Linked DNA regions of Homo sapiens: region 2 is linked to region 1. The links are contacts of gene promoters, found by promoter capture Hi-C in human tissues and cell types (Jung and others, 2019). All regions are on one chromosome and are shown on one strand. The core of a region is centred on a gene start or on the middle of the fragment in contact, and the rest is flanking DNA. Distances in the headings are between cores, read along the strand shown. Region 1 holds the start of RS1 (retinoschisin 1). Region 2 overlaps ADGRG2 (adhesion G protein-coupled receptor G2).

Region 1 (3,945 bases), core at 148-2,647:
CTTGCTGAGGAAAGAGGAGGGGGCAAGGAGTAAAAGGAAAAACAACAAAACCCCAAAGCATCTTAAAGTAGTCAGAGTTACTGGGACAAGTTGCAGACTATTAATTGCAAGGGGAAAAAATCCTAACAGACAACTGGTTTACATGATCCCTACTTAGAAATATACCTTGGGGTTTGCAGAATGACCTTGGAATTATATTGTCACCAGTCTTTCCAAATACTGAGAAATGTGACTAAGTAACAAAAGTCATCAGCCTGGGAAACATGGTGAAAACCCCTCTCTACAAGAAATACAATAAATTAGCCGGATGTGGTGGTGCGTGCCTGTAGTCCCAGCTACTAGGGAGGCTGAGGCAGGAGGATGGCTTGAGCCTGGGAGGTTGAGGCTACAGTGAGCCGTGAAACCAAGAATTCTGATTCTACTTGTGTGAGTTTCGCTGTGTCTGTCTACCAGGTCATTTGCAGAGCACAGAGACCTCCTTCTCCCTGCTTTTTAATTTATTTTCTATAACACACAAATACACGATGTCCACAAAGAAGACAGGCAACCAATTTCTAACATCTGGATGAACCTGAGGAGAAATTCTGAGCAGATGGGTACTTGAGAATTGAGAGAGGCATGAAAGAATATTATTTCAAAGATTGAGAGGGAATTGGAACTGGATGACATTTTACAGATTTGCCCTTATTTTTTCCTAATTGAAGCATATCACTTCTGCTAGGGTCATATTTAGAAATTTTAAAATGAGTGAGTGTACTGAGTCTCCGAGGTTTCCTGACTCTCAGTTGGATTATGTTTTTTATTAGATTCCAGTGGTACTGGGTATGTTACGTTAATCCATATTTAAACTAGGTTGACCTTACACCCCAATTTGCCCTGGATGGTCCTGGGTTACACCTGTCGTCCCAACAGAATTATTAATAGCATCGTCCTCCACCGTCAATAGCATTCCGGTTTGGAATATTAAATTCTACAATCACTCCCACTTTGACTCCTAAAAGTTTTCCAGAATATGCCATACTTTCTCATTAATTGTTGCAACTTATGGCTATTTTATAGATTTCTGAGACCCATCCTGTTTTCTGTTGGATTTTAAGCATCCTTTGAACTTTAGAAGGCTCCTCACAGAACTGGAAAGCCATCCACACAAAGACAACTGTTGTTCATTAATAACACATGTTAGTTAATTAACGTGTTGCTAATTAATAATATTTATATTATTCAGGCTATATTCCTATTTATCAACGATATTAATTAAATTATGTATTAAGTATGCAATGAATGTCAATGGTTGAATAGCACATACCTTCATAGCCAAAGAGAAGTAATAACAAAAAGCCTTCTATCTTGCGTGACATCTTCCCCTCGTCCTCGGCCAAAGCTCTACCTTACTGAACTGGAGAGCTGGCCCAGGAGCAGGGGATTAAGTTGAGCCCTGGCCTCATTAAGCATCTTAATCCATTTAGTTCTTAGGTCTTTGGCTGAGCCCCATCAAGTTAACCCACAGAGTTACCTGCCTCAACAAGGAAGTCTCATGGAAGATACTAGCATCAACTGAGATTCAGTTCGCGAGGAAGATACTTTTCGTTCTTTTTTTTTTTTTTTTTTTTTTTTTTGAGATGGAGTTTCGCTCTTGTCACCCAGGCTGGAGTGCAATGGCGCCATCTCGGCTCACTGCAACCTCTGCCTCCCGGGTTCAATCTAGTCTCCTGCCTCAGCCTTCCGAGTAGCTGGGATTATAGGCTCACGCCACCACGCCCAGCTAATTTTTGTATTTTTAGTAGAGATGGGGTTTCGTCATGTCAGTCAGGCTGGTCTCGGACTCCTGACCTCAGGTGATCCACCCACCTCGGCCTCCCAAAGTGCTGGGATTACAGGCGTCAGCCACTGCGCCCGGCCCATACTGTTCATTCTATCTTAATGTAAGGGAAGCAATGGAGGGAGAGAACTACAACCAGAAGTCTCAGGTTTTCGTCCTTTCTTCGCCATCATTTTTTAGGGGGTGACCTTGAACAATTTCCTGCCACATAAGCACTAACATTCTCGAATTGTATGAAAATGTCATGGATTCCCCTCTTTGAAAGCAACTAGGCATCATGTGCACACCTATTCACTCAGGAAAATGCTAAATTTGGTGGTGGTGGGAGGACAGTTAACACAAAGCTGTGCATTGCTGTGTTACTTTTAACAACAACAAATTGGAAACAATCTAAATGGCCAAGGTTAGGGGGCTGGTTAAGTAAATCAAGAGATGAGTGCAGCCTGGTAGGTTTAAGAGCACAGACTGCCAACCCAGACTGGGTGCCAAATCGCAGCACTAGCACTTGTTACATTGTGACCTCAGGGCAAGTTATTAATATCTCTGCGCCTAAACTTTCTCATCTGTAAGATGATGATAATAATGCCTACTTTCGAGAGTTATTTTGAGGCTTACAAGAGATCATATGTATAAAATACTTAGCACAGTGCTAGACATAATTAGCTATTATTTTTACATCACCATTCAGAATAAAGTTGATGGGAGGAAAAGGGGAGTTGTTTAATAGGTATAGAGTTGAGTTTTGCAAGATGAAAAAGTTCCCGAGATCTGTTTCACAACAATGTGAATATACTTAACACTACTGAACTGTACACTTAAAAATGATTATGGTGGGCTGGAGGTGGTGGCTCACACCTGTAATCCCAGCACTTTGGGAGGCCAAGGCAGGCAGATCACTTGAGGTCAGGAGTTCGAGACCAGCCTGGGCAACATGGCGAAACCTCGTCTCTACCAAAAATACAAAAATTAGTCGGGCGTGGTGGCGTGCACCTATAATCTCAGCTACTCGGGAGGCTGAGGCAGGAGAATCGCTTGAACCCAGGAGGCCGAGGTTTCAGTGAGCCGAGATTGTACCACTGCACTCCAGCCTGGGTGACAGAGCCAGACTCTGTCTCAAAAAAAAAAAAAAATGGTTAAGGTGGTTTTAAAAAAGGCCGGGCACGGTGGCTCAAGCCTGTAATCCTAGCACTTTGGGAGGCCGAGGCGGGCGGATCACGAGGTCAGGAGATCGAGACCATCCTGGCTAACACGGTGAAACCCCGTCTCAACTAAAAATACAAAAAATTAGCCGGGCGAGGTGGCAGGCGCCTGTAGTCCCAGCTACTCGGGAGGCTGAGGCAGGAGAATGGTGTGAACCCGGGAGGCAGAGGTTGCAGTGAGCTGAGATCACGACACTGCACTCCAGCCTGGGCGACAGAGTGAGACTCCGCCTCCAAAAAAAAAAAAAAGAATAAAGTTGATGAAGTGATTGTAATAACAGGGAAAGAGTTACACTCAAGTTAGAAAAAGACGCAAATTTCTACACTGTTAAGGATGCATAACTAGGTTGAAAATGCAGAGAAAAATACTGAGTGCCCCTTCCCATTTTATATTTTTTGCTACCACCATCTCACCATGGCCCACACCCTCATTCCTCTTGTCAAAGATAAAAAAGCCAATATTTAAACAAATAATAAACTCCCCAAAGGAAACTGTAATGAAATAGTAAAGAGGAACAGAAAGAAACTAGAGAAACGTTTGCTCATTCAACCAGTATTTATTGAATGTCTACAAGCCTGACATTTATTTTATACTGTGTATGAACTCTATTCCACAAATTCTACTGCTGCATTAAAAGGGACTGTGGGGTTTTTTTTTTTTCGTGCTCTGCACATCAGAGTTTAATGAAAAATAGAACTTTTAATCAGAGTCATAATCATGACCGACCTTTAATAATTCACCTGCAGTCAAAGCGCTGCTGTATTGCCTGCCACATTTTAGTTGGAGGTTGGGTGGCCGGCCCTTGCTGGCTTGCAGGCAAAGGGCAGCCAGGTGCATTCCCCGAGCGCCCGATTTTCCGAGGCGTACTGGGAGGAGAGGTGGGGTAGGGCCCGGCCGGATCGGGGGCGCCGGATCGGGTCTAGGAC
Region 2 (4,173 bases), core at 519-3,018, 330 kb after region 1:
AATGGCTTTTGGTGGGGAAAGAATCCTATTCACCACTGCACACCATCACCCGCCAGCCCCATGCCACCGCCCCACACTCTGCACACTGACCAGCAGACGTCCTATCTCAAGGCTCTGGTAAAGAACAAACAATTCCTTGTCACAGACCAGTTGCAGTGCCTGGTAAAATCAAATCTAATAGTTCATTTAATGCCTTTGCGCTTGTACCTTCTGGTGACCCTGACATATGATAATTTTCTAAGTGAGACACTTTGTTAAAAATAAAACATTGGGGGTGGGGGCCTCATACTTAAGAAAGGAATCTGACTTTCAGCCTTCTCTAAAGAAGACAGAATCCGTGCCCAGTATCTGGAGCGTTGACTTATGTTTCTGGGACAAACAGGGAAAGGGTGTTGTTCTGTTGTTCTTCACAAAGACATAGTGACATAAGATAGAAGGCAGGGTGGCAAGGGTGGTGGTGTGCTTTCAATCTTGATGTGTAGGAATATTTAGCCTGAAAATAGAGGCAGTCTGGTTGGGGGGATGGCAGAAGGCTGCATATAAGGAGACGGAGAGCCAGGCTTGCTGTTTTCTAGCTTTGTGAATTGGGGGGATATCACATCATCACTTGGAGCCAGTTTCTTCACCTACATTTGGGATGACTGCCTGGCTCACCTCACTGGCTTATCTTGCATGGGGTCACTTGTGTGAAAAACAGGGGATTATACACACTGTTATATATTACTTGTAGATTATCTAAAGGACTCTCTGGCAGAAGAGGTATCAACTTACTGTTTTCTGCCTGAGCAAAACCACTGGTAAGTGCCACCAGGGAGCCAACTGAACTTAATGGAAAATCAGAACTGTAGAGCTTTATAAAATGGTTATTGGCTGCCTTGTAAGGTCATGAACTCCCCAGTAATAGAAGTATTCAAGCAGAAGTTAGATTATCTTTAGTCAAGGATAAGTCAGGTGGAGTTGAGGGTTGAAGAGGCTCCTGCATTGGGTGGGAAATTGAATGAAGAAATCTTCAACATATTTGGGGAGCCTAAGGCCTTGCGACCTGCCACCAATAGGCTGCACAATCTGAAATGTCATGCCCACGTGGCAGTGAAGTTACAATGGGTTTTATATGTACATTCTCTCACTCTGCCCTTCTTAGCATACTGTCATACGTGTCTGATATCTGGGAGGTACAAAGTAGAATGAGGCTGGCTGGGAGCTCAGGGACTGAGAGTTTGGGCTCTTTACCACCAAGCTAATGTTTTCAATATATTACCACCCCAAGCTAATGTTTTCAATATATTGAGCACCTTCTGTGCCAGCCCCAAATTCTAGTTCCTGGAGATACAAAGAGGATTCATGGTTCAACCTTGAGGAATTCCATATTCATAACAAATCCAAAGAAATAAACAGGTGTCCTAGAAGGAGACTTGACAAAGTTGCTCTTCGGGCAGTGCACATGTAAGAGTATAAAGCTGTTTTAGAAACTTGCTGAATGTGATCTGCTTCATCGTTTCCACCTGCTCAAAAATCAAAACACTAGAGAAAAGGCAGAGAAAGTCCAGGCAACATGCAGGCAAGCTTATACATACCCCAACCGACAATGCAGAATTTAAGGATGTATTTTCGGATGTAAGTATTAAATACTTTGACAAGGGCCAGGTACATATGGAATGCTTCTAGGCCCATCCATGTGAATGAGACCAAGAGAAAATAATGAAGAAATACAGCCACTGAGATGCAGAGGCCTTGCATCTTATACAGAGCAATCCACGAGTCCAGGAGGAAGACCAGGTTCAGCAGAAGCAGAGCAGCACACAGCTGGATGAGGATTTTGGAAGGGTAATCCCTCCGGATCTTTCTAAAAGGAAAGGATGAGAACAAGAATGAGCATTCTACTCTGCCAACCCTCCAACTTTTTTTTGGTTTAAGATAAGGTCTGGCTCTGTCACCCAGGCTGGAGTGCAGTAGCGTGATCTCAGGTCACTGCAACCTCTGCCTCCTGGGCTCAAGCGATCTTCCCACCTCAGTCTCCTGAGTGGCTGGGACTACAGGCGCTCTCTACCACACCCTTATTTTTTTTGTAGAGACACGGTTTCGCCATGTTGCCTAGGCTGGCCTCAAACTCCTGGGCTCAAGCAATCCTGCTGCCCTGGCTTCCCAAAGTGTTGGGATTACAGGCATGAGTTACCACACCTAGCACCAACCCTTATGTAAGCATATCTGTCAGGCTCTTTGAGTTTTAAGCAATTTATTTTTATTCTTTGGTAAATGTCTATATGCATAAATTTCCTCTGTTTGAGTATATGTGTATATGGGGTGGGGGGGAGCTTAAAACCAACAACAACAAAGGAAAAATCTAAACAGAATCATCTGTGATAACCATAAGGAGAATTTGTGTCTGTATTTCTGTGGGACCTTTTACATGCTGACTGTTGACGCATACTTTTAAATAGTTTGTAGTAGACTCTACTAAGCACTCGCCCTATTTCTCCCAGACTACTTTCGGAAGCATTGGTGCTGCTTCTCATGGAGTCTGCTATATTCAGATCTTCAAAATTTAACCAAGATTCCCATATTATTGTATGTTATTAGGTAAAATGAGATCATGGAAAGAAGAGTTTAAACTACAGCTAAATGTAATAGCATAGGAGAAGCCAGCTAATTGATGACATGTTCATGTTTATGCATGCAAAATTAGATCCGATGAAATCATTCTGAGTAATGGCTGGCCTTCTGGTTATTTAGTCTCACTAATAATATTTCCAAAGGCTCACTAGAAGATCCGTAGTCACAGCTAGACCCTAACTTTGGCACTGAAAATAAATTTTTACATTTCCTGATCAGTGTCCAAAATCTAAATCCAAGAACCTACATATTGTTTCGATTCGTTAATGCAATAAAAATGCCCATGTCCTTCTTTTCCATTAGAATTTGTTGGAATTACCCCCAAAAAGCAACCAAAGGGACCTGTCTGGTAAGCCAAGAAGGAAAGGCTGTTTTTTAGAATGGCATTCTTGCTGCAGAGCTACACTCACTGAATATCTATTTTTTTCAGTAAAGCTTTTACATCCTTATTTCTCTCCATCCCCACACCAGTTAATGTATTTAATCTTTTGTGTTTGCTCAGTATAATTTAGAAATGTAATTTATTAAACATAGTTCTTATGCTGTACATGGTGCTGTGGTCTATTTCAGATGGTAAGTCTCTGGGTTTTGGGGCCTGCATCCCTCATTCATTTCACACTTTATGTCTATCAGGTACTGGGTGTCATTCTGGGGCACCAAGATGATTCTGACACAACCCCTGCCTTCAGGGAGTCCACAGACTAGTGTGAGGACACAAGCATATAAACCAACAAGTCCCATAAAGTTGATACATGGATGCTCCACTAGCTGGGTGTACAGGGTAAGGCAGGCCGAGGAAAGGGCTTAGTTAATAAATGTTGGCAATGGAGGTGAGTGCTGAGTCCTAAATCCAAATTTCCGGTTGTGGATACTCACTCAAAAGCTATGTAGGTTACAAGAGTCACTGACAGAAAAATTGATGAAAGCCCACAACCAATATATGTAATGAACGTCAGAGCCATCATTTGAGCAGGCAGCACAGATGTCCTAGATAGGTCCTGGAAAATGAAATATTGCTTTTAATAATCAAATATTTTTAAATAAATACAAGACTTATGATGTATCAAGTATTCTAGGGATCCATTCATAGTCTATTCAACAAACCTATGAGGTAGGCACAATTATTACTATCAGGTAAAGATAAGGAAACAGAGACAGACACAGAGAGGTTAAGTAACTTGCTCAAGGACACACAGATAGAAAGTGGAGAAGCCAAGATTCAAATTCAGGTCTGGCACACTCCAAAGCCCACATACTTGATCACTGCATTATAGTGCAATGGAAAGGAACTGGACTAGGAGCCTAAAGACTGCAATTTAGCTCCTGCCTCTTACATTTCTTAGTTCTATGACTGTGGGCAACTATCTAACAAGAGAGTCTTAATTCTGATTTTAATAAAATGACAATAGCAACTCCCCATTCTACCTATCTTGCAGGACTGTTGGGATGATTAAATAAGAGCATTTATGTCAAAGTGTTTTGTAAAAATCTTAAAGTGCATTGCAAACTAAACAATTTTTATTACTCATCCTAATCTGAATTCCTTAGTTCTCTTAATTATTT

The links. The method cuts DNA at HindIII sites, captures the fragments that hold promoters and counts their contacts. A contact is called where the count stands out against the background at its distance.
Region 2: a contact is called between a fragment that was not itself captured here and the fragment with the promoter of RS1 in region 1, in 1 of the 25 tissues and cell types used here (pancreas).

The regions. Positions count from the first base shown.
Region 1 is chrX:18,670,711-18,674,655 of GRCh38, forward strand. It overlaps RS1 (retinoschisin 1), which reads right to left and starts at 1,398. Exons shown (of 6, transcript NM_000330.4): 1 at 1,307-1,398. The coding sequence starts at 1,358. The HindIII fragment of the contact is 16,600 bases long and covers 1-3,945 here.
Region 2 is chrX:19,001,272-19,005,444 of GRCh38, forward strand. ADGRG2 (adhesion G protein-coupled receptor G2) reads right to left here. Exons shown (of 29, transcript NM_001079858.3): 23 at 3,487-3,608; 24 at 1,575-1,843. All of the region lies in intron 2 of LOC101928415 (a long non-coding RNA gene), which reads left to right. Among named protein-coding and RNA genes, the nearest start is that of PHKA2, 19 kb to the left of the region's middle. The HindIII fragment of the contact is 4,254 bases long and covers 1-3,895 here.